7 separate regions of the Homo sapiens genome follow, and all the other regions are linked to region 6. The links are contacts of gene promoters, found by promoter capture Hi-C in blood cells and fetal thymus (Javierre and others, 2016). All regions are on one chromosome and are shown on one strand. Each heading gives the region's core, a stretch centred on a gene start or on the middle of the fragment in contact. The rest is flanking DNA. Distances are from core to core; before and after follow the strand shown. Region 1 has its middle 28 kb from the start of LINC01327. Region 2 overlaps LINC01327 (long intergenic non-protein coding RNA 1327). Region 3 has its middle 140 kb from the start of SERPINI1. Region 4 overlaps SERPINI2 (serpin family I member 2). Region 5 has its middle 170 kb from the start of SERPINI1. Region 6 holds the start of WDR49 (WD repeat domain 49). Region 7 has its middle 35 kb from the start of SERPINI2.

Region 1 (3,566 bases), core at 827-3,326, 230 kb after region 6:
GGGAGCTTTTGAGCCAGGATGAGCCAGGAGAAGGAATTTCACAAGGTAATGTCATCAGTTAAGGTAGGGAACCAGCCATTTTCACTTCTTTTGTGGTGGAATGTTATCAGTTAAGGCAGGAACTGGCCATTTTCACTCCTTTTGTGATCTTCACTTGCTTCAGGCCATCTGGACATATGTACATGCAGGTCACAGGGGATACGATGGCTTAGCTTGGGCTCAGAGGCCTGACATGTATGTGTATATGTATACGCACACACACACACACACATATATATGTATATACAATTTTACTTTTGTGTCAGAGATCTATATCTAGTAAAGCTTTTTGGCTGCCGTTTTGCAATGTAGAGCTGTTGCTGGGCAGTGGTGGGCTCACCAGGAAATTATATTCATCTACACTTGCCTTTACGCAAGTGGAACTTTATAATTGGTTCTCATCAATGGAATGTAGTAGAGATGAATGTATCACTTGTGAGCCCAAATGATTAAGAAACAAGTGTGCCTCCCTAATTGTTCCCTTCTCTGGTACCAGCTTGATGCCAGTGCTCAAGGTGACCCTGTAAGCCATAGTTAGAAGATGACAGAATTTTACTAGTTTTGTGTGTCACAAAGCCCCTATGCAGCTTTGGCTAAAACGAATCAGTCATACCTGCATTGGACTTTAATCTGAGAAAGTTATATTTTCATTGCTATTTTGGGGGCTGTTTTGGTGACAGTAGTGGATGGTAATTTGGTATTTTCAATAGGGGCTTCTATACACAATGCAAAATATGTGGCATAATTTGAAGTTGGAGAGCCATAACAAGAACAAAAACAAAGAAATAGCAGGTTAGAAGGCAGGAAATCTTATTTAGTTGTGGAGCTATCTGGTAAAATTTTTGCCTGTGATAATTTGGAAACACACCATGTGAATACTGACCCAGTATCCAGCCAGAGACTGCATTTCCCATCTCCCTTGAACCTGGTGGACTGCTTGACCAGTTCTCACCAATGAAGTATAAACAGAAATGATATTTGTTACTTCTGGTTATAGTAGTTAGGAAGAGAATTTGCCTACTCTTCTTTTTCTTTTGTCCATTCCATTAGCTGGATTTCAGCATTTTAAGGGTGATCATGGAAGCCCTGTATGGAAGATGGCAGAGGCTGCACTAGCCATGGTCCCTGAATGTTTGCATGGATGACATCCATTCTATCCCCTGTGTCAGCACCACTGACCAAGGATTCCAGCAACAAATACACCTTATGGTGTTAGGCTATAGGAACTAGATAGCTAGTATTCATATAAGTAATACAATTATATTCTTTATACATGTTTTAAATATATTAGCATGTAGTGTATGTTATCCTAGTTCTGGACATGGTAAAACAAAGTTCTGGAATACTTATTAAATTTGCCTAATTCTGTGAAAGAAGATCATGAATGATATTTCAGTGTATTTGCCTATGAAAATCACTCAGATCCATAATAATAATGTATCTGCATCAAAGAGAAGAAAGAACAGAACATAGAAAGCCCCACTAATGGGATGCTTTGCTGTCTACCCCCATACAGGTCTCTTGGTTGAAATTCTTTCCATAAGAAAAAGGCAACATTTACCTTCTCATTTCTGTCTCTCTCTCTGTCTGTCTCTCTCTCTCTCTGTGTGTGTGTGTGTGTGTGTGTGTGTGTGTGGTGGAAATGAAGTGGCATCTTTTAAAAATATTTATCTTGAACAAATTTTTGACTAATATAAAAAATTTTGCGAGGAATGAAGACATTGCTTTGCCAATGATATTTAAAATCATGTGCTTAGTGCTCCACAGAAAACTACAGAAGAAAAGCTGATCTGAGCAAGTTCTCAACTGGCATCTGTGGAGACCAAAACAGATTTTCTGTTAGATTATATTCACATATTAGATTTGAATCATTTGATGTGCATTGGTTATTACAGAGCAAATTTTCTGTAATAAGCTAACTTTTTAGCAATTAACAATAGCTAATATTTAGAGAGACTTACCATTTCTGAGTAATATATACAGTGTCTTACATAAACCTCACCTCTCTGTCACCCTTTATAAAATGAGGAGATTGATTTTCCACAAAGCTAAGGAACTTTGCTTCAGGACAAATGGCAGAATTGGTCGTTGAACTCTGGTTCTGTGTCTCAAGATCTCATCTCCAATCACTAAGCCAGTAATTCTCACCCTTTGCTGTGTATCAGAGTCACTTGGAGGGCTTGCAACATGGCAAAACCCTGTCTCTACTAAAAAATACAAAATTTAGCCAGGCATGGTGGTGGGCACCTGTAATCCCAGCTACTCGGGAGGCTGAGGCAGGGAGAATTGCTTGAATCCGGGAGGCGGAGGTTGCAGAGACTGGAGATGGCACCACTGCACTCCAGCCTGGGCCACAGAACAAGACTCCATCAAAAAAAAAAAAAAAAAAAAAACCCACAGATTGCTATTCCCCAATCCCCACATTTCTCATTTGGCATGTCTGGGATGTGTCCTAAGAATCTGCATTTCTAAAAAGTTTCTAGGAGATGCTTGTGCTACTGGTTTGGGAACCACACTTTGAGAACAACTGAAATGAGGTATATTGCGTCTCTCATCTTATCATATACATATACATATATACATATATGTATATATGTATATATATTTTTTTGCTATACTCAAAATGATCTAATAATCAGTGATAGAAAAAAAGCCACCAGAGTACAAAATTTAATGAAAACAAATTTAATTAGAAAAGATTGCATTAAAAATCTATATGAGGCCAGGCATGGTTGCTCACGCCTGTAATCCCAGCATTTTGGGAGGCCTAGGCGAGAGGATTGCTTGAGTCGGGGAATTTGAAACCATCCTGTACAACATAGTGAGACCTCGTCTCTACCAGAAAAACCCCCAAAATTATGCAGGTGTGGTGTTTCACATGTATAGTCCCAGCTGTTTGGGAATCTGAGGTGAGAGGATTGCTTGATCCTGGTAAGTTGAGGCTGCAATGAGCCGTGTTTGTACCACTGCACTCTAGTCTGAGCAATAGAGTGACATCATGTCTCAAAAAAAAATCCATATGAAAGAATGTAAATAAATGATAAAGATGATGATTACTTATTGTATGAAGAATAAAAGCAAGACTCTTTAGCCAATATTCAAAGCCTTCTATAATTTTATCCCACATTTCTAGACCTCATCTTCACTCATCTGTGCTTGGTATACAACACACCCCCAATCTCCCACGTTGGATGACTGTTTAAGCTGCTTCCTCTGCCTTGGGATGCTTTTCTTTCCCGTTCTGCAAAATTTGTCTGAAAAAACTCTAATTTGGGTTCAAGACCTAACTTAAATGTTTCCTTTCCAAATAAGTCATCCAAGGTGTTGTCAACTTTACTTCTTCTAACACTTCCCTCTATTTCATAATAGTTATTTTTTGAGCTGCTCATACCACAATGAGACAAGAATGAATAATATCTTCTTTTTAACTGCATCATAAGGGGATCTTATCGTCTTTACATTTCCCATAAGATCTAGGACTCTGATGCATCCTGGAAATACTGTTCAGCAGTGGGTTATCAAATTGA
Region 2 (3,653 bases), core at 833-3,332, 250 kb after region 6:
ACCTTCATATTTTTATTGTTTTCAATTTAATGCAGCCATGTTCCTATCACACTTCTTCATGAAAATTACTGGAGTCAGGAGTAACTTTTTGTTCACCAAATGTAATGACTGCTTAAGTCTTCACCTTTTCTGTACCACTTATCTCGCTTCGACATTATCTTCTTAAATTCCTATCTCTCTTTGGTTTTTATGACACACTTTTTCTGGTTCCTGTCTCGTTATCTCATCCTTTTCTTCTTTTCTTCATTGCAGTTTCTTCTTCTGCTGTCTGCACTGTTTATGTCAGAGGTCAAGGGTTCTGCATTTGGTCTTCTTTCTATCCTCACTGGAGTATTCCTACCATTTCAGTGACTACAACCACTGCAATTATCTCTAACCTGACCTCTTTCCTGATGTCATACTCACATATTGAATTGCCCTGTAGACATTTTTAACAATGTCTCACAGACATTTCAAAAGTGTCCAAAAGAGAGCTCATTGCCTTTCCTCTCAGATGTGCTTCTTCTTCTTCACAATGTTTTTAATAAAAAGCATCCATGCAGTCTCCTAGCAAGAACCCTTAAAAATTTTAGATGTCTTCCTATTGCCACCTCTCCCTTGTATCAGACATCTAAGTGACCAGTTTCTATTATTTTCAAACACCAAATATATCTCCAGTTTATTAGCTTCATTCTACTCCCCCCGACCAGTTTCTGCATTAATTAAGGCCATCATCTTGTTTCACTAGATTATTGTTATGGCTGCTAATTTGTAAACCTTTTCTCTGTCTCTCCATTCTTCAATATCTTTTTGACAATGCCACCAGAGGGGAAAAAAAGCAAATCTGGTCATATTATTTCCATGTTAAATGATTGTTCTATTAATTATTGACAGAGGAATGCTGAAATTGAAGTCAGTCCAATTTTCCAACAAGCCAGGTGTCTATAGAACTGAAGCTTGAGAAACTTACATTTGTATAATGAAATGCACCTGCTGTCTGTTGACCAACTTCTTTTCCTTGTCCCTTCTGTTGTCCTTCCCAGCTATATAAACCCTTGAATGGGCGTGGAGAAAGGGGGAGAGTGGGAGAGTGAAGAGTGGATTTAGGGTTTGCCTCCCACCTCTCCAGCTGACATCACCCAAATAAAATCTTCTTCTCTGACAATACTCATTGTCTCAGTGATTGGTTTTCTGTGTGGCGAGCAATGGGACCTAGAGCAAACCCCTGGTTATTCGTAATACAATTTCCTACTATAACTATGAATTTGTCTATTTCTACTTGCAGAAATGTTAATGTCTTCTGTAGATTCGCTTATTTTTTTGTTTCTGTAAAGTTTTGCTTTGCTTACTTTTAAGCTCTATTATAAGTAGCATGCACACTTAGAAATATTATGTATTTTTTTAACGAATTCCATTTATCATTATGAAATATCTCTTTATCTTTGGTACTACTTGTTTTGAAGTTTACTTTGTTGGCTATTCATATAGCCGAACCAGGTCTCTTATGATTAGGAGTTTGCTTTCAACCTATCCATGTTGCGTTTAAAATGCAATTTCTGTAGAGGGTGTACAGTATACTGTTAGTATGCTGACTTTTTTCGCCTCTGACAATATTGCTTTTTCTTCAGAATGTGTAGTCATTTTACATTTAATGCAATTATTGATATGATTTACTTGAAGTTTAACATCTTATTTATATTTTTAATTTTTTGTTCTTCTTTTGTTTCCTTGATCTTACTTTCCTGCCTCCTTTTAATCTAGTATTAGTTTAAAGTAGTATTAAGTTAGCATTCTATTTTATATAACCTGTTAGATTTTTATTATACTTCTTCATTTTATTTTTAAGTAGTTGCTTTGCTTTAGGGACTAAAGTATGCACATTTAACCTACCATATTCTATACTGAATTAATATACTCCACCTCACATATCATAGAGGACACTCATCAAATTATAATTCTATTTATTCCCATTTCATGTTTTTTAATGCTCTTAAGCATTTTACTTTTTCATATATTATTAACCTCACAATATAAATGTTTCATTTTAAATAGTGAAGTGTCTTTCAAACAAATTAGGAGAAAAAATGCTTGCATATTCACCTTGTTATTTACCATTTTTGGCATTCTTCAATTATTTTTGCAGATCTGAATTTCCTACTGGTATCATTTCTCTTCAGATTGAAGAAGTTTTGACATTTCTTATAGTGCAGATATGATGGCAACAAATTCTCTCAGCTTTGATTTATTATTTATTCATTTATCTGAAAAAGTATGTATTTTACCTTTAGTTTTGAAGGCGATTTTTGCTGGATGTAGGATTCTAAGTTGATAATCGTTTTTTAGTTGTTTTCTTTTAGCACTTTAAAATGTCAATGCGTTGGGTTAATGAGATTGTTACTCCCTCTTACATGATGCATTCTTTACTGTGGTACCCGTTAGAATTTTTTCTTTCCCTTTGGATTTCAGTTTGACAATTATATGCTTATGTGCATTTTGCATAAATTTACTCCATTGGAGATTCAGCGACCTTCCTGGATTTGTAGATGTATGTATTTTCAAACATATAAGGAAACTTTTCAGTCATTGTTTCTCCAAGATCTTTTGTACTCTGACTTATTCCCTCTCCTATCCTTCTGTTCTTCCAATTACAGGTATATTTGACTGCTTGATTTAACAGTTTGTTATGTCTTTAACAGTTTGTTATGTATTTAACAGTTTGTTTATGCCTTTTTTTCTATGCTTTACTTTGGATAAGTTCTCCTGACCTGTCTTCAAGGTCACTAACCATTTGATTATTTTGTGATTTTTCTGTATAGTTCATCTATTTTTTTTTTTTACATATTGTAGTTTACAGATATATAATTTTTAACTAATTTTTCTTACTTATTTTATTTTATTCTCTGCTGAGATTACCCACCTATCCACCTATTCTCATATTTTCCTATTGAAGATAGATCTTTTAAATTATTTTCTGCTAATTCCAGTATCTGGATCATCTGTGGTTTGCTTTTGGTGATTTTTTTCCCTTGCGCGTGAGTCCTATTTCTGCCTCTACGTAGGTCTCGTAATTTGTTATTGCATAGTAGAAATTAAGTATAGAAGAAAAATAGGGTTAGAGGATTAACACTGGGTTTTTATTTTCTTTTTGCCAAGAAATTTCAAGTTATTTTTTCATCTGTTGGCTAAAGTGGGAGTTGATTGTTCAGATTTCACCAAGGGTTTATTTATCTGGGACTGAGATGAAGCTTCCCTCTTGTTAACCCAATCGCCAACATTCAGTTTTCCAAGGAAGGGCTAGTCTCATGGAGCTTATCAGGATTTTATTTGGGATTCCTTGCAATATCTTTGAATTTTTAAATTTCAGGTATGGGGAGAATATGGGAGATGCAGCAGATTGAATGATTTCTGTCTGCTTATCAGTTCTTACTTCAATTTCATTGTTTTCAGCAAACTTGGGATAAGGTGGAGAGAATGACTGCGTTGAGCAAACTATTACTGTGCTTGGTAGTCTTTCAGACCGTAATGTAGCCCACGATCTCCACTGTTGCCAATAGCTCAGATGGCTTCATTTCCACCCAGTAAAGTCCTGGGTCTTGACCATTCTTCTGCTCGTCCTGCATCCAGACCTGCCAGATCTCACTGCTTACTTATAATGGGCACCTTTCTCTGGAAAT
Region 3 (3,738 bases), core at 250-2,749, 220 kb before region 6:
TGTGTCACTCATCTAGTTGTGAGCTGCAGATGGCTTCTCAAAACCTGTAAGATAAAATTCTAACAACTTAGCACAGCATTTAAGAATTTTTAGTCAGTATTCTGCCAAGCTGGTTAGCCTAATCCCTCACTGTTACCCAACTCCACATTATGCTGTGATCACATCAAAAGTTCTGTTATTCCACAAATTTGTCGTGTATTTTTTTCATACCATGCCTTTGCACCATGCTATTTCCTCTGTCCATGATGTCCTCTCCTTTCTTTTCTGCTTGGGAAAATCCTGTGAGTCTTTGACTCGAATGTCCAACTTTCATGTGAAGCATTTTGCTTGCTCCTTTGAGTTTCCACAACACTTTATTCAGGCTTTGATTAAAGCACTTCTTACGCAGTTGTGTAGCAATCGGCTTTTATGTATGCCTCCACCATGGAGAGAGGTATTTTTCTTGCCCCAATCTCCCTAGCCAATTTCCAGTGCCAAGCAAGCTGCCTGGCCACAAAGAGACATATAATAAATTTGTTGAATACAATAATTTTTATGCAGTTGCCAAAGAGACGTCAGCATTTCCTATACAAATCTTCTTTCAGGAAGATGTCAAGGGGAATGGAGGCTGGAAAGCGGATTCTTACAGATTATGTTTACTTGACAGCCTGAGTTTTGGCTGTTAGTCAGGACTCTTTTGGTTACAGGACAAAAATTCAACTTGAATCAGCTCTGAAATTGGCAATTTATTTGCTTCTAAAACCACACCTTGGAAATGGATTTGGTTTCAGAAGCAGTAATTTTTCTCTCTCTCTCATTCTGACACACACACACACACACACACACACACACACACAAGCACACCTCTGCTTATTGCTGATTGCTGCCTTCATCATCTTAAGCCTATGATCTCCACAAGGCAACAACTGGCAACAGATAACTCTAGGGTCATATGCTTGCAGCATTTGCAACTAATAAGGAACAGAGCTACTTCCTGTCAGCTGTGGTTTAAAAAATTCCATCAAACTACTCCAACTGCCCTGAGTCATGCAAGTATCGCTAGGCTATTTTCCATGGCAAATAAGGTGGAGTATAGGATTGACCTCAGTCTGGTACCATGCCTGTTCTGGGAATGGGATAAAGTGATTGGCAGCTTCCATCAGAACTATATTTTGGAGTGCAAGAGGAGCAGCTTCCGAAGAGAATAAAGACTTCTTCTTGCCTACAGAGGGATAATTCTCCACTATAGATATGAAGAAATGGACAAGATGAAAATGTTGGAAGAAATATTATGTAATTTTTATGATTAAACCTTTCATATTCCTGATATATAAATATTGTAATTCAAACACATTTTAAAAGTTTATCAATCAAAATAAAAAACTGCTCAGGAATCTCATTTGTACTCTTTCATCTTTTGTTTTCTTTCCTCTAATTATTCTTTAAATAAGGATCTACCTAAAGAGTACAATTCTCTAACATGAGCTTTCTAAATTTCATAAATTTTATTCTTCGTCTCTTATATTTATTCTTTTACTGTGCCTATTTCTGCTAAAATCAAAGAATATTCAAAAAGAAAAGAAAAAACTGAAGAGAAAAAGTTTTTCTTATCTATGAATGAGTTACTGCTCAAGGATATTTTGAGAGTGGAAAAAAATGGAGCAAGCATGTCCATGTTCGGTCTTAACCGAATTTTCTAAGGGTACTTGTGAAGTTGTTAAAGGTCTATATCCAGAAACTTGGGCTAGCTGGCAAGTATCACCACCCCACTCTGGGAACAATGTGACTGCAGGTAGAAAGGGTGATTGTAAGGTGTTACCATGCTGGCTTGGTAGCCCCAACAAGCAGCTTTTTCTTGGACTAATATGATCTGCGTACATTTGAGTGCCCATTATGTGCAAAGAATTGTCCTACAAACTGTGGATGGATAAGAGAAATTCCTGATGAGATTAACCCTACATAGAAAGAGAAATATGAAAAACTGTGGGGTAGGATTTTAAAATAACAACTGTTCTTTTGCAAATTAAATACTTTAATGTAAAGACACATTTTACTTAGCCTGTCTGTATTTTCTGCGTTTTTTTTTTACAATAAACATATTTCAAGGTTCATAAAATATAATGAAATAAATAAGTTATTCTAAAATATTAAAGGATACACCTCCTCTGGCATCAAATAAGTTCAAATCCCATTTCTGCCAGTCACCAGTTGTGTGAACTTGGGCAAGTTGTTTAATCTACCCAATAACACTGTGAATATTACAGAAGATAAAATGTAATAAAGTGGTTGATACTGTGCCTGGAATGTAGAAGTTGGATGAAATAGATTATGTTCATCGTTCTTCTTATTAATGTGAAAGACAATCTTAGTTGAAGTCTAGAAAAAAATAAAATCTAGAAACAGGTGGTAACTGACCCAGTTTATTCTTTCCCAATATTTGCTCAAGTATGAATTCTCTAGGCTCTGTCAGCTTTATACTCAACTCACTCAGAAAGCACCTCAGAGTTCACTGTCAGGGGGTGTCCAGGGCTTGGGTTGCTGTTGCCTCATGTTTTATTTCTAGTAGCAGGAGCTGGCTAAAACTTCAGCCCTGTTTCTAATTAGAGCTTTAGAACTAAGTGACATTTGCCATCATGTGAGTCCAACCTTGGGATTACTGTGGTCAGTATGTTTCCCTCTAATTCAATCTCAAGGAGGGAATAAAATGGTAGTTTTTCTTTTACTCCTTGTTTTGGCAACTTTATTTTTCAATTAAAGGTTATTCAAGGTGAAAGTGGTGAATAGTGACAGCTTCTTGTTTGCCTCTCCTTTGTTCTTCCCTCCCACACACCTAATTCTGGATGGGCTTTTGGCAGTTTCTTCCACACAGTGGGGAAGTCAACTGCTGACTCTTCCCAATGTTTACTGACTGCTAAACCAGGCTTTCTTTTGAGAGGAACCTCTTTATTTCTTTCTCATGACCAAAATCTATTTATACAAACAAAATACATCTATTTTTATCCAACTTAAATGTTCTCAGCCAGTTTAGTCAAACTCTTTTGACCTAAGTTTGTTTTTCCCAGGCTCACTATTTGAATAGTTTTAGAGACAGAAGTTATATCCTTGCATATAGCAATGCAGTTGTAGTGGGGCGGGGTGGGGGGAAAACACACAGCACAATTCTCACTAATGGAGCTGTTGGAAAACAGAATTGATGGCTCTCTAAATATGGAAGCTACTACTACTTGTTCTTAATACAGTTCTACAACCGGTTCATTTAATAAGGACTTATTGTGTGCCATACAGGGCACATGAATAATTTATGTATTCCTCTTAACAACCCTATGAGTTGTTATTATTTTCCATCCCATTTTACAGATGAGGAAACTGTGGTTTAGAGTGGTTAACTAATTGGGCCAATTCTACCCAGATAGTGAGTGATTAAGTCTGGGACATGCTAATTAAATTGTTAAGGTTAATAGATTCTATAATTTCCTCATGTCAGGCAGAAATATAACCATTGAATCAAATATTTTCAATGTTTATTCACAAAAGTGTGAATTGAGCTCTAAAACCTATTTGCAATAAATGAACAACAAAAGGGTTTATCAATCAATTGAAAGTATGTTGCTTTTTAAGCGTAATCTATGTTGCCTGCTGTTATAAGGTTGTGGGCTTCTCAGATCTCTACAGCATTTTAGAACTCAAAGGGATTTAGAATCCATTTACTTCAGTGTTTGTTCCTACAATGCTCAGATGCTGTCTAGTTTCTCAATGAGT
Region 4 (3,797 bases), core at 1,139-3,638, 200 kb after region 6:
CCCATTTCACAGATAAGAAAACTGAGGCACTGAGAAGATAAATTGATTGCCATTCAATGAGTATTGACAGAGAAGGATCAGCTCTCGTGTCTATTGGGTCACAGCCTTATTAGTTTGATACTTATTAGAAAGTGTATTTCCTGTTCAAAAACATTGATTGGGATTCTACTGTGGGCAAGAGGCTGGGACAGATGTAAAGCAATAGGTTCCTTATTGATAAGATGGTTACCACCTATTGATAAAATGGAATAGTACAAGATTTGTGCAAGAAATTCACTAAGACAGCCGGGAGCGGTGGCTCACGCCTGTAGACCCGGCACTTTAGGAGGCCGAGGTGGGCAGATCACGAGGTCAGGAGATCGAGACCATCCTGGCTCACACCGTTAAACCCCGTCTCTACTAAAAAAAAAAAAAAAAATACAAACAATTAGCCAGGCGTGGTGGCAGGCGCCTGTAGTCCCAGCTACTCGGGAGGCTGAGGCAGGAAAATGGCGTGAACCTGGGAGGCGGAGCTTGCAGAGAGCCCAGATCATGCCACTGCACTCCAGCCTGGGCGACAGAGTGAGACTCCGTCTCAAAAAAAAAAAAAAAAAAAAAAAGAAAGAAATTCACTAAGACTACACAGCAATGTACAGTAAGTACTAAAAGAATCGTATAAGTAAGCATTAGAAGGTTCACAAAAACGGAGAGTGCACAGGAAATGAATTGTAAACAAAGGCTTCATGAAAGAAGGACTTGAGTTGGGTTTTAAAAGAGTTGAAGAATAAATCCTATATGCAATGAAGAATTGTTGAATATGTCCAAGTAAGACAATGAAATGATTAAGTCAGTGTTTTAGAAAGATCTATGTAGTAGTCAGAATTGTTCACCCTGGATAACTTGTCTGAAAAATTTCCCTCTTCCTCATTTATCCCCCACCCCTGCCAACGGTTCCTATTTTTCTATAAAACTTCTATTTGTCCTTAAAATTAAGTTTGGGTTTTAGAAAGCCTTTCTGATCTCTCCATGCAATATCATACAAGCATCTTCCCTTCTCCCCATTGGGAAAGTTCTAGTACCTTGTGTTTATTTCTGCATAGCAGTTATATTAAAATGAATTGTTTATCTTCCCCTCTGACCCATAAGCTACTTGAGGTGAAGAGCTAGGCATGTTTCCTCTCTGTGACTGCAGCAAAAAGCATGTATATAAAAAATAGTAGCTATTCAATGAGGATTTGTTGCTTTAAACTGAGTAGTGGTAATAACCTGGATTTGTTAAAGAGGGAAAGACTAAAGCCTAAAAGATCAGTTAAAAAACCACTGCAACAACTCGGACATTAAGTAAAGAGTGTTTAAAGGGAGCAGCCTCACTGGGAATAGTAAGGAACTGGTGAAATTATTGAAATGTGTGACTAACTAGATATGGGTTAAGAAGAAATAGGTTGTTTGGGGGTTCCAGGCTCAACTTACTAGAAAACAAGAGGGCTGTGAATTCTTGCTGTTTTGTAGTAGTCCTTACCTGGGCACCATGGACTTCTAGAGAGGTCTAGGATATACTTCCAAGGGTCCTTGAAGCCCTGAAATTATTTGCAAGTTTATGCATGTAAGGTTATGCATGTATTTTCCTTGGGAGAGGCTTTATAGTTCTCACTGAATTTTTGGAAATCTCGGCCTTTAAACTTGTTAAGCACTACAGTTCTATTCAAAAGTATAGTATTATCTTAATAATAGCCATAGTCTTTGTGAGAGATATCATTCTTTAAAAATATTGACTGATGTGGCACCTCACAGTACCTTTTGTCAATTGTTGAAACCAGATTACTGAAAATAATATTGAAGACCCAGAGCCCTGCCACTTTCTTACTATATAACTTTAAGCAAATTACTTTTCTAAGATTTTTCTTATACTGTTAAATGCAGTAATGATAACACATGCCTCTTAGTGTTGTGAGGATTCCATGAGATAATGTGTATACAATTTTTAGTGCTCAATATTAGCTAAATATTATTTGTATTATTACTCATTTAATTCTAACAGTGGCCATATATTATAATGCCAACATTGTAATAGGTGGCCCCCCATCATATCGCATTAAATTCCTCAATCAATTTGATGAAGGTCTAGTTTTACATTAAGGTTACAGACAAGATGGAGACAGGTAAATACCTTGCCTATGGTCACACAGCTAATTAATGGCTGAGCCAATACTAGAAGAGGTCAGCCAGACGTCTGAAAACAGGTGACTGTAGGGCAAGCAAGAGAGGGAGCACAGAACAGAACAAACAGTCAGTGATAGGGTGAGCAGTAGGATGAGAGATCTGGAGTAGCCGTACCAAGGAGACTTTTCAAAAGATGTAACACTTACCACAGGACATAAATGATCATCTTTTTGCTGGCTAGAAATTAATTCTAGGCTTGGCCAGCCTTGGATCTATAAGTGGGTGAATGTAAATTGTGTGTGGGTGGCAGGAAGGCAAGGAAAATGAGACTGGATATGAGAATAGATACGTTGTGACCAGCTGCAGTAGTGATTACAAAATGTTCGTTTACTTTGACCTATTGGACATGGATAAAAATGGGAATACTAGGCATACATTAAACATTATCCAGATGTTTCATATGTGAAAGTATTTTAAATTCAGCCTGTGACGTTAATAGAGTATTTTAATTATTTTACACACACACACACACACACACACACACACACACACACAGAGGTAATTGATTGGAAAGTGACCAGAATTTACTGTGTACTCACATAACCATCTAGGGCCACCATTGTCAAAGATTGTGTTGTATTTTTCTCCTCATGAGCAACCCTAAGATTTGGTTTGGTTGGTTCCAGCTCTGAACAGTACAAGTGATATGGTTTGGATTTATGTCCCCACCCAAATCTCATGTCAAATTGCAATCCCCAGTGTTGGAGATGGGGCCTGGTGGAAAGTGATGGGATCATGGGGGCAAATTTCCCCCTTCAGTGCTGTGCTCATCGTAGAGTTCTCACGAGATTTGGTTGTTCAAAAGTGTGTAGCCCCTGCCCCCTGTTTCTCTTCCTCCTATTCCAGCCATGTAAGATGTGCCCATTCCTCTTTGCCTTCAGCCATGATTGTAAGTTTCCTGATACCTCCCTGGTAACCAACAAATGCCAGCATCATGCTCCCTGTACAGCCTTTGGAACTGTGAACCAATTAAACTTCTTTTCTTTATAAATTACCCAGTCTCAGGTATTTCTTTTTTCTTTTCTTTTCTTTTCTTTTCTTTTTTTTTTTTTGAGACTCGTATTTCTTTATAGCAGTGTGAGAATAGCCTAATACACCAAGAATGATTCAAGCCCACTGTACCAAAGCTGGGATTTCAGATGATAACACAAACCCAGAGGGAAATTGATCCAAGACTTTTTTTCATTAAACAAGAACTCTGGGGATAAGGGGAAAGGAAGGGCCAATACCATTCCCCAACAGGGCCTGGAGGCCAGAAGTAGGTCATTCTTAAAACAAAAATTGGGATTGTTTTTCATTTTTCTGCAGCTTTTCCCTTTGTGAGATCTGTTTCAGCACAATGGTTACATTTGGGAGTGAATTACTCTCTTTTAAACAAATAGATATTATTTGCATATGCTAAAAATTCCATTCATGATTTAGTTGCTAATTGTTTATCTAGCATTTTGCTGCTCATTCTTCTACTTTTGCCTGCTGTTCTTTTGACAATTTTAGAGGAGGATTAAGGAAAAGGGAAAATGAACCACAACTGGGAGAAATATGAAGACTCATAAACTTTGGAAGAGGGACATTATATATATTGACCAATATGGTGGTGT
Region 5 (3,696 bases), core at 844-3,343, 260 kb before region 6:
ATATAATTTTCTCTTTGGGGATTGTGAAGTCATTCCTGATTTTCTTTCTCTTTTGTGTCTCAATTCAGTTAGTCACCTTATCCTAGCAGTTTTCCCTTTGAGAATCTGTCCCTTCATTTTCAATGTCCAGGTTCTCATGTCTTCCTACTTAAACTGTAATTATTTTCTCTTGAATCTTCTTGCCTGCAACATTCTCTCCTCCAATATAAACAACAAACGTTACCATACAACCTTCCTAAAACACAGCTTTTACCCCAGGACTCACTACTGAAAACATGTCGGAAATTTCTTCTTGCCTACAAATCCTAGCTTGTCAGATAAGGCTTTCCATAATCTTAACTCAACTTCCATTTCTGAACTCATTTCTCACTATTTTCCAACATTATCATCCTTCAAATAAGGTTTGCACACAACTTTCAGGGTTAGGGAAAGAATGTCCTGTTTGCAGTCTGAAGTTGGCTGGTAGGTAAATGTGGGACTCCAGATGACTAATTTTAATATCCTGATCTTCAGTTTTTCATGTCTGCAAAAATAGGGGGAAGACCTAAATCAAGGGCTGACCACGAACTGAATTTGGTGAGAAAACATGTTTGTTTGGCATGTATGGTGCTTTACAAAAATACTGATTTCTAGTACTTTAAGGACAATATAGGCTTTTTTTATTGCCATAGGCCCCTACACTCTCTCGTGCTTCCCTCTGATATTATGTCAACTTCACTCTGATATTATGTCAACCAGGCCCCTGAAAGCAACCCTACACTAAATTACTTCAATTCCCTACCAGCTCTATCATGGTGTATTTCTATGAGTCACATCTGGTATCATTTGCATGCACTTTCTCCACTCTGTGTTTCTGGAATGCGTGACTCCCCTCATTTCAAAGGTAAAAGAATAAAGGAAAAAGGACACTGAGGACATCAAAAGACAAACTTTGCTTTTGTGGCCTGTGGGCTTTTGTGGACTATGATAGAAAGTAGTAAGTTCATTTGTGAAGAGTTTATGGAAGGCAATAAGAGGGAGTCCAGTATTTTATTATTTCGGCACGAACATCAGTTCTTACACCGGGGGCAGGTGGAGGCCAGGGTGTAGACTTCCCTTTCAGTCATTTCTCTCATAATGAACTCTGCTGTTATCACCCAGGAAATCCTTTGACCCAGAATGAGGCAGTATCTCAACCGACTTACAAATAAAATATCCTTATGTTACGAAATGTTCTTCTTCATTGATAAGGATGCTTGGATTTAAAAATCATAGAAGTGGAAAACTGGAGCAATCACCTAATTGAGCAGGGAGACCCTCAGGCTGTATTGTCTTTCACCCACCCCCACTTCAAATTTGGCAGCTTTCTCTGTACATCAGATAACCCAGAGTTATTAAACTCTTCCCTGTATTGTTTGTTTGAGTGTTATTGATCTTCTGCTCTTTTAATTATTTCTTTTTAAAGTAGCTTTCAAAGCTTTCTTTGAAGTTGGGGGCCGAAGTTCACTTCCACTGTGAGGAGTTGAATTAAATTGGATTTTTCTTTTTTTTCTCAGACTTGGTTGGTAATTGAAGATATATCTTAGCAGCTGAACTACAGTCTGGAATATCTGACAGTTCAGGGATGTTGACTTTCACTTGCTCCCTCTCAGCCTGTTCTTTGTCCCCTCACTGGATTTGTAACACATAATAGCAGTCACTGAACTAACTTCCCGGGATATTTTTGAATGGAAAGAATCTATTCTTTAAAAGAATTCTGCCACCAGTTTACTTTTTTGCTTTATTTAATTGTGAAAATTTAAGTCAGTCTTGATCTGGCAATTGAAGCCTTAGGCAATTGCTGTTTATCACACACCAGATAACCTTTCCTGTCTTATGAGCTCTTTCTGAATGTACAATTGAGGCAATTGAGATAAACCGAAGTAGCTTTGATGGGTGTTTCCAGATCTAATCTAGAAGGAGGGTAATTCTTCTCAAAGTGCTTTTGAAAAGCATTTGTTCTCCACGTCACAAAACAAACTTAAACAAAATTAAGAGCAATGAAGGAGGGACATCTATTTCTCCCTGGTTTGAGGAGATGGGATTTTTTCAAATGTTTTCCATCCCCTAGATCACGCTCTGGTCCTTTTATGACTAGTCACTTACAAGAGATTGGGTGTTGTTAATGACCTACAGAAGGAAAATGTGCTTTTATCTCTGCAGAGCAATGATGTCCTCTGCATGAATGGCCACCATGGTCATTACATTGGATTGGTTTTGCTGAGTGATGACCTCAGCACATAACCTGGCCACTTAAGTCAGGGAGAGAAGGAGAACTTTGGACATTCTCTGCACAAGCTCATTTTCAGTTTACCCTCACATTTTATTTCCTTGTCATCTCTAGTTTCTGTAGTTCTCTCTAAACCCTGACCCAGCACTTGTGCTCAGAATACGATTTCTTTTTGCCTTATGATGGCTGCCACAATTATCAACCATCTGCCTCTGCACTCACACACTCATGCCAGCATTTTTACTTATCAGTCTATTCACTTCCTATTCAAATTTCTTTCTTCTCTCCCTTTCTTCATACCTCTTAAACCAGTGTTTCTCATAGTATGGCCTTCAAATCATCTACAACAGAATTCCCTGTGATAATTTTTTACAAATCTGGATTCTGGGCGCCATCCCTTACATCAGATTCAGTGGGCGTAGGGCCCAGGAATCTGACTTTTCACACACCTCAAGATGATTTGTTCACACACTAAAGCTTAAGGACTAAAATCCTTCCTGCTTTAGCCTGTGACGTAGCTCTCTCTTCCTTTTGCTGGAGGACTCCTGACACATGTGACACACTCAGCCACCACTTCTCTTGGTGTCCTTCCTTCCTAATTCTTCACAATTTCTCACTCTTGGGAAAAAAAAAAAAATCTTCCCAAGGTCCCGAAAGGACAACTCTGATTTATCCCTAGTAGTACTATCTACTCACATTTTAAAAATAGGAGTCAGTGCTTGGCTGCAAATAGAGCTGACAAAGTTGAAGCATAAGAACATATTTTACTCAAAGTATAAGAAAATTACGCTATTTTAGTTCCCCTTCTTTTGCCAACTGAGTTTGAGTGAAAGAAGACAAGCATCATGTGGGGATCCACTGAGAGGGAAAATGAGCAGATGAATAGACCTAAAGCCACTTTTCCTAAATCAACAGTAAAATTGTGCAATATACAATATTACTGCAAATCTGCTAATATAGATGGAAGATAGCGAAGATTTGATGTTTCCTGGAGACTAAACACTCACTGAAGCAGGAATTATGTCTAATATTATTTCATTGGCTTTTGTGGATGCAAAAAAAGACATGAGAAATGCATGGCCTCTGTTCTTACAGAATTTATAATCTATTGAAAGTTGCTTATTGAAATCAAACATTATGTATATCAAGGACTGCAGATGGCGGTTATTCAGATTGTTATACTATTACCCTTGTAAAACCTGATAGAATAAAATAATAATAGCAAAACATAGTTATTCCAGCAAATTTAAAGTGCTGTGTGAAAATGTTAAATGAGACTACCTGGTTTATTTAGTGTGATGGTTAATTTTAGATATCAACTTGACTGAATTAAGGGATACCCAGACAACAGGTGAAACATTACTCCTGGATATGTCTGTGTATTAGTCAGGGTTCTCCTGAGAAACAGAACCAATATGAGATAGATAGATAGATAGATAGATAGATAG
Region 6 (3,672 bases), core at 733-3,232:
GAGAGAGAGAGATAGAGAGAGAGAGAGAGACAGTGTCTATCTCTGTCACTCAGGCTGGAGGGCAGTGGCGTGATCTTGGCTCACTGCAACCTCCGCCTCCCAGGTTCAAGCGATTCTCCTGCCTCAGCCTCCCAAGTAGCTGGGATTACAGGCGCCTGCCACCATGCCCAGCTAATTTTTATATTTTTAGTAGAGACGGGGTTCCTCCATGTTGGCCAGGCTGGTCTTGAACTCCTGACCTCAAGTGATCTGCCTGTCTTGGCTTCCCAAAATATGGAATTACAGGCATGAGCCACCGTGCCCTGCCTATTAGGCTCTTAATAAATGTTTTTTTTGAAAGAATAATGAGAGATGGATGAAAAAATGAAAGCATGAATGAAACTTCATTTTTTTCTATAATGGGTACAGGAACTCCTACAGGATGCTCTTCTCTCTGTTCTGTACCATGCCTCTAGTGAACACCAGCTCAGAGAATGTTAGAGCCGGAAGAGACCCTAGAGAAGATGTAATGCCAACTTTTTAGTTTACAGAAGTGAAAATAAAGTGCAACGGGCACATCCATCTAAAGTGCAGTGATACAGTTGGGCAGTGTCCCCACCCAAATCTCACCTTGAATTGTAATAATCCTCACATGACAAGGGCGTGGCCAGGTGGAGATAATTGACTCAAGGGGGCGGTTTCCCCATACTGTTCTCCTGGTAGTGAATAAGTCTCATGAGATCTGATGGTTTTATAAATGGGAGTTACCCTGCACATGCTGTCTTGCCTACTGCCATGTAAGTCATGACTTTGCCCTCATTAGCTTTCTGTCATGATTTTGAGGCCTCCCCAGCCATGTGAAATTATGAGTCAATTAAACCTCTTTCCTTTATAAATTACCCAGTCTCAGGTATGTCTTCATTAGCAGTGTGAAAACAGACTAATACATGCAGTATCTGAAGTTTGGGAGCCATTCTGTTCTCTTCCGTATGTTACTATTTGTGTGACCTTTGGCATTTTCTTTGCTTTTTTTTTTTTTCTTTTTTGAGACAGGGTCTCATTCTGTTGCCCAGGCTGGAGTGCAGTGGCACAATCTTGGCTCACTGCAACCTCTGCCCCCCAGGTTCAAGGGATCCTTCTAACTCAGCCTCCCGAGTAGCTGGGATCACAGGTGTGCGCCACCATGCTCGGCTGATTATTTTTGTATTTTTACTAGATACAATGTCTCGTCATGTTGCCCAGGCTGCTCTCGAACTCCTGAGCTGAAGCCATCCACCTGCCTCAGCCTCCCAAAGTGCAGGGATTACAGGCGTGAGCCACCTTGCCCGGCTTTTTGCTTCTTTATCAGTAAAATGGGGATAATGATCACATCTGCCTTGTAGGATTGTTGTGAAGCTTAAACAAGACAATGAACATAAAGTTTTAGTGCCTGGCACATGGTTAATACTCAAAAAATGTTAATTTTTCTTCTTTTTCTCCTCCTTTTCATTATTATTAGCTGAACCAGTAATGACACTGCAAGCAATTTTATCATTAGATTTATCATATTATGTTATGCTGTGTTTTTTTATCACATTTTCAACAAGTTGGAAGCTTTTTTGAACCATCTCTATTTTATATACATAGAAACTAAGACAAAAAGAATATAAGAAACAGATTCCTTTTATATAAAAATAAAACATTTTCTGTGTATAAAACATAAAATTCCAGAATTTCATGCTTTTCTCTTTGACTAATCATATAGTTTCATAATATATATCCTATATAATGGTAAAAGTTGTCTTTAAATAATACAAGATGTCGTTTAATAAAAAATGAGTGGAATGAACTGTCCTTTTATTTCAAAAAAAACCATTTCAACATTTACATTATATATTTAAACTTTCAGTTGGAGAGGGGGAAGTGAAAGGGAAAGTTTTAGTTGGCTTTGTGTTGGTTGCCAGGAAACATACAAAAGGATCAGAACAGATGAAACAAACAACTCCACATTGCTGGGAAGGTGGCATTCAGAGTCAAGTACTTCATTGGTAGGGAAACTCTGCAGCTTTGTCATCTAACTCTTCCAGACAAGAAAGTGGAATTGAAAACTACAACATGTTAATGGAAGCAAGGTTAGTTAAAGAGATTTTTGGGAAGGTGCTTTTCTAATGCATTTAAAATGAGGATTGGAAGTTGTTTTCTGTGTCAGTTACTATAAATGTGGGGAAAGCTTTACACATTTTTAATCAAGCCAGGTTAAACAGAGTATAAGGAAGGGGTAAAAATACCATTTTAAAAGCATTCAACTGTAAATTTTGAAAATAAACTCTAGAATCAAATAAGTGAGAGGGTTGAGGGCTTTCATTTCCTACCTCAGCTTGAACATTTTGCCTCCTGATCGTATGCCTTGAAAGGTTTGTACTTTCATTTTGGAATTCTGTTGCTAAGTTGAGTTTCTTTTCAAAGGCACCTGTTGAAGGAAAAAGAAGATCCATCCTTATAGAAATAGTTGAAGGCAACTGAGAAAAGGTGAAGCCATTATGAGTTGCCAGAAAGCTGTACTTGAGTTAAACATAGGGTCACAGCTTGGGCCAAAGAGTCCTGAGAGAACAGAAGGTGTAACTGCATTTGAAGACTATGGCACAGGCCTGCTTGAAAACCAACTCAGCGTGGGTGACTTTGTAAAAATACAGAAGGCCTTTGAGGTAAGTGTGAAGCTTATTGACCAGATAGTTTGAGTTGTTCATGAAGGAGCCTAGAATGAAACACAGAGATATTTTTCTTTAAGCATTAAAAAAATACACTTAATTGTTATAGCAGAGAATTAAAAATAATTGGTTAGGCCTGGATTTAACACAATGTGCTTGGTAGCTTTGCCCCTCAGTTCTTTGGGCCAAATAATATTCTTTAGTTTGAAATTGCTTCACTGAATTTCATTACTATCAAGAAAGAACTATTTATTGTTGGAAAAAATTTTTTTCTTAGAGATCAACATATTTTGGGGAAACAAAAAATTATGGCTGTGAGTGAAGAAAGCCAGATCTCTAAGGTGACCTCCAGGAATAATTGTTCTTGCATTTAATACGGACATAGAACTCAGCAAATGCAAATATGCATACCCAGTTTGCAAAAAATTTCCTCCTGTCTCACTCACCCTAAGTGGCACAGCTCCTTTTCTAAGCTGATTCTGGCACTTTGTTGTCCCAAGATCCCTTATGAGGGACGAGTCTCCCACTCATTTTGTAAATCCTGGAACAATGCCAATAAAAACAAAATTAGAATTTTTCATTTTAACTCTGCATAAAAAATAAACCATAGGAATTTAACTGTAAATGAATAATTTTCTTCTCTCTTAGTCAATGAATTTTGAATTCTGCAGCTATGCATAATGAACAGCATACATCAAAGTGGTTTTTAGTTTCAAATATGGGTAGAAAGAAGTGCTCTTCCATGACGTAGAATTTAGGTAGTCATGAGCCTCCAACATTTCTACTATATTATGTTTACTAAAGTATGATCTAGGGCCTTCTTAAGATTGTCCGTGGGTGCTTGGAGTATCCATACTAATTTGAAATAGAAAATATTTTGGAATACCACCTGGAAATTAATAAAATATAATAAAAGCTCACAATATATTAGCCTGTAATAGGCACACATTTTTATCTTTGGATATCCACAAAAGAATATAACAAGTTGGGTTCCACCTGTATTGAT
Region 7 (3,563 bases), core at 958-3,457, 220 kb after region 6:
ACTACTCAAGCTAGAAGTCTGTGACCTTAATTACTGAGTTATATTCCCTTTGCAGGGAAGGAAAAAGTAATTTTCTCTCTACTTCTCATAGCTTTGAGCTAGTATCCCTTGTAATAAAATACAGGATAGCCAGGTGTGGTGGCTCACATCTGTAATCTCAGCACTTTGAGAGGCTTAGGTGGGAGGATCGCTTGAGGCCAGGGGTTCAAGACCAGCCTGGGCAACATAGTGATATCCGGTCTACATAAAAATTAAAAATAATAGCCAGGTGTGGTGGCGCATGCCTGTGGTCCCAGCTACTCGAGAGGATAAGGCATGAGGATCACGTGAGTCCAGGAGGTTGAGGCTGCAGTAAACTATGATTATGCTACTGTACTGTAGTCTGGACAACAGAGTGAGTCCTCGTCTCAAAAAACAAAAGATTCACAAGAGAAAAACAGACATTTGTTAACATGTATACCACATGTACACATAGAAGACACCCAGGAAAAAATGAGTAAATCTCAAAGAAGTGGCTTAGAACTCTGGCTTACATAGCATCTTCGACAAAGAACAATACATGGTTGAAGAAATGACAAAGGAAAAGGACCTTGGATTTATAAGGGCAGTAAATTGTAGGAAGGCAAATATATGGTAGATAAAGGCTATTTTGTAAAATTTGTTATGTAGATTCCTGTGGTGATATCTCCAGGATGATAAGGGTCTTAAGTCATCTTCAGTGATCAAATTCTGTCCTACTTGGTAGAGAGAGGAGGAGGGATAACTTTGTGAATTTGTATTCTGTTTTTAGGCAAATTGTTTAGGCAAGGCAAATAACTTTTCCTGTATCTACTTCTTCTCAGTTGCCTTTAGCTCAAAATAACCCTTATGCTAAAGTGGCATCTTTTGGGGTGGCATATTCTGCTGCCCTCCACCTTCTATTTTAATTTTCAAAATCTAGGTATCCATCTACAGCAAAACCTACAGCAATACTCAAGACATTATGAAGCCAACTTTAGAATGAATTGTGATTGCTTAAAAATCATAACATAATTGAAAGCAATGTTCATTACTCTACTTTCAATTTGAGCATACTTAGATATAACACAGTAAATACTAATCTATATGTTAGTAATATGCATTTGTGGCATAAATTCCTCACAACATATCTGTTTTAAAAATATAAGTCTTTGTTTCAGGAAGGAGAGAATAATGAGTTAAGAGGATAGTAGTTTTATTCAGCTGTGGTCCAGATTCCTGTTTCTCTTGGGTTGGCTGAATTCTTCTGATCCTCTTTCATGCATTAAATGTCATGCTCTGGGGATTCATTCATTCATTCTACAAATTTTAATTGAGCTTCCACTATGTTCCAGGTAGTTTTCTAAGCACAAGGGATGTATTAGTGAGCAAATCTGACAAGGTCCTTGTCTTCCTGGAGCTGACATTTTACTGGTAGCAGTAAACCAGTGAACAAATACAAAAACAAGGTAATTTCAAATGGTAATAACTGATGACATTAATAAAGCAGAAGAAGAAAATAAGAGGGGTTCAATAATTGAGATGATGTAATAAGATCACTACCCAAGTTTCACTTTAAGTACATATTCTTACAGTGTGTTCCTAATGTATTTGTTTTCCTTAATAAGATTTGCTAAAAGTCTGCCACGAGTTCCCGACTGAGGATCCTGAAAGCATTATACAGAAGTTGGGTAATTTATTTTTCTGATTTCATGTTCTTCTTCCATTTGGCTTAAAAATGGGAGTGTCTTCCATAAGCTCATTGTGTGGATTCAAGATAAAAACCCCATTTTCTACCATGTTCTGGAAATACATTTGCCGAACTACTTCCAAAATTAAAACATTTAATTTTTTCCTTCAGTTGTAAGTAACTCAGTAGTTATTACAAGTTTGCATCATAAAGGTTACAAGTATATGGAATACATTTACAAAACATACATCTATTTATGAAGGAAAATAAGTATGAAATAATTTTCTTTGCTAAACTGTATGAAATCTGTAGGATTCACAACAGTCCATAATCAATATGGGATAAAATTACTGTCAATACCCCTTGTAAAAGTCCAGTACATCATATATAGGAAATATTTGTATTCCTCATGGAGGCAAAATAATTATTAAAATAGTAGTATTTCTTTTGGAAACTTTGGGTTTTATTGACTTCACATAGCTATAATTCATGGCGTATTCTAGAGGAGTTGTTACCAGACTGAACTTGGGTCTGCCTGCCTGGCACAGCAAGGCCAAACAATGACATTGGGATTTGCAAGAAGAAAAAGTGAGGCATTTATCGCAGGGTGGCAAGCAAGGAAAATCAGGCAGCTCATGCTTAAGATCTGAAATACCCAGTGGCTTAACTGTAAGAGTTTTTAAAGGCAGGGAGGCAGAGGTTACAGGCAAAGCTATAAATCAGTACATGGAGGCTATACGTTGGTTTGGCCTAAAAAGGTGGGACATCTCAAATCAGGTGAGTGGGGAGGGTGGCATGGCCCACAGATCACAGGTGGATGCAAATATTTTCTGATTTGTGATTGGTTTGGCTTTGTCTAAAAGTGTGGGTCAGCTGAAAGGAGAGTTGAGCTCTGGCCTGTGAGCATAATTTCCTTCAGGACCCTCAGGAAGAAATTTAGAACAAAGAATGACAGAATTTAGTCCTCTGTTCCACCCTATCTGAGATCTATGTGCCAGCAGATGGCTTTTCCATGTGGTGAGGGGTCCAGGTCTCTGAAAAACAACTCAGGGACATATGTGAAGACTTTACCTTTAATTTCTATAGAGAAGCAAACTCTGTGGCTCTAGCTTCCTTGGCTATTGTTTTCAGCTATTACAGCATTCTTGCTTATCAGGTTGCTCATTTACTTCTCAGGGCTAGGTTGGTGCCTGGAATTTCCCTGGAAGGAACTCAAAATTTTCCTTTATTTCCATGCCTTGGGGGTGGCAGGCCCGTAGGAGGGATCCCTGCTTCATCTCAGAGTCTGCCACATCACGCAGTACAACTGAAAAGCCAAAGACCTGAGAAAAGGAATAATTTCTTTCTTTGGAGAGGCTTATAAAATCTCCTGAATTGGGTAATGATGACATGGAAACCTTCAAAGGTACAGAGAAAACTTTAGGCAGGTTTCATTAAAAGTCTGTGCCTTGGACCTCTGGAAATAAGATACTTCCTCATTTTGTAGCCTTATACCATTGAAGCATACTCTATGAAGGACCAACCCCCTGAGCCATGGATTGGCCTGAGTCTGATTACAAGCATATGGTAGAAGTGTGGACCTACTTAATTTGTTTGCTTGCAAGAGCACTTAATTTTGTGATTCCTTCCTCCCCTTATTGTCATGGTTCCTCATATGATAATCTCTAAATCTGAAGCCTAAAATTCTAAATGTCAATAATCTAGTTTCTTTCTCCTTTTGATTCCTCAAGTGACCACCCTGATGATGTAAAGGAATTAAAAGATGACATATTTTTCACTGTCCAACATTATAATTTTTGGCTTGTCACATCAATTCTCTGGAGCTTCAATGCCCTCACCTATAAAATGAAGGATTGGTTGGACTAATCCTATTTCA

What was found. The method cuts DNA at HindIII sites, captures the fragments that hold promoters and counts their contacts. A CHiCAGO score of 5 or more calls a contact.
Region 1: a contact is called between a fragment that was not itself captured here and the fragment with the promoter of WDR49 in region 6, in 4 of 17 cell types (M2 macrophages, M1 macrophages, monocytes and 1 more). The highest score is 9.3, in M2 macrophages.
Region 2: a contact is called between a fragment that was not itself captured here and the fragment with the promoter of WDR49 in region 6, in 6 of 17 cell types (M2 macrophages, monocytes, M1 macrophages and 3 more). The highest score is 17.5, in M2 macrophages.
Region 3: a contact is called between a fragment that was not itself captured here and the fragment with the promoter of WDR49 in region 6, in 1 of 17 cell types (naive B cells). The highest score is 5.5, in naive B cells.
Region 4: a contact is called between a fragment that was not itself captured here and the fragment with the promoter of WDR49 in region 6, in 4 of 17 cell types (M2 macrophages, M1 macrophages, monocytes and 1 more). The highest score is 6.6, in M2 macrophages.
Region 5: a fragment that was not itself captured here is called in contact with the fragment with the promoter of WDR49 in region 6 in 1 of 17 cell types (total B cells); the score reaches 6.6 in total B cells.
Region 7: a fragment that was not itself captured here is called in contact with the fragment with the promoter of WDR49 in region 6 in 1 of 17 cell types (M2 macrophages); the score reaches 6.5 in M2 macrophages.

The regions. Positions count from the first base shown.
Region 1 is chr3:167,419,060-167,422,625 of GRCh38, reverse strand. No RefSeq gene overlaps it. Among named protein-coding and RNA genes, the nearest start is that of LINC01327, 28 kb to the right of the region's middle. The HindIII fragment of the contact is 3,500 bases long and covers 327-3,566 here.
Region 2 is chr3:167,401,948-167,405,600 of GRCh38, reverse strand. All of the region lies in intron 3 of LINC01327 (long intergenic non-protein coding RNA 1327), which reads right to left. It also overlaps a transcript of ZBBX not described here. Among named protein-coding and RNA genes, the nearest start is that of LINC01327, 11 kb to the right of the region's middle. The HindIII fragment of the contact is 2,289 bases long and covers 938-3,226 here.
Region 3 is chr3:167,873,979-167,877,716 of GRCh38, reverse strand. No RefSeq gene overlaps it. Among named protein-coding and RNA genes, the nearest start is that of SERPINI1, 140 kb to the right of the region's middle. The HindIII fragment of the contact is 7,563 bases long and covers 1-3,738 here.
Region 4 is chr3:167,455,048-167,458,844 of GRCh38, reverse strand. The region is part of intron 5 of SERPINI2 (serpin family I member 2); the gene reads left to right. Among named protein-coding and RNA genes, the nearest start is that of SERPINI2, 17 kb to the left of the region's middle. The HindIII fragment of the contact is 8,519 bases long and covers 1-3,797 here.
Region 5 is chr3:167,907,498-167,911,193 of GRCh38, reverse strand. It overlaps the pseudogene LRRC77P. Among named protein-coding and RNA genes, the nearest start is that of SERPINI1, 170 kb to the right of the region's middle. The HindIII fragment of the contact is 1,269 bases long and covers 1,459-2,727 here.
Region 6 is chr3:167,652,252-167,655,923 of GRCh38, reverse strand. WDR49 (WD repeat domain 49) reads left to right here and starts at 1,982. Exons shown (of 19, transcript NM_001366157.1): 1 at 1,982-2,090; 2 at 2,425-2,663. The coding sequence starts at 2,499. RefSeq lists enhancers at 1,722-2,244, 2,245-2,768. The HindIII fragment of the contact is 616 bases long and covers 1,575-2,190 here.
Region 7 is chr3:167,437,260-167,440,822 of GRCh38, reverse strand. No RefSeq gene overlaps it. Among named protein-coding and RNA genes, the nearest start is that of SERPINI2, 35 kb to the left of the region's middle. The HindIII fragment of the contact is 8,061 bases long and covers 1-3,563 here.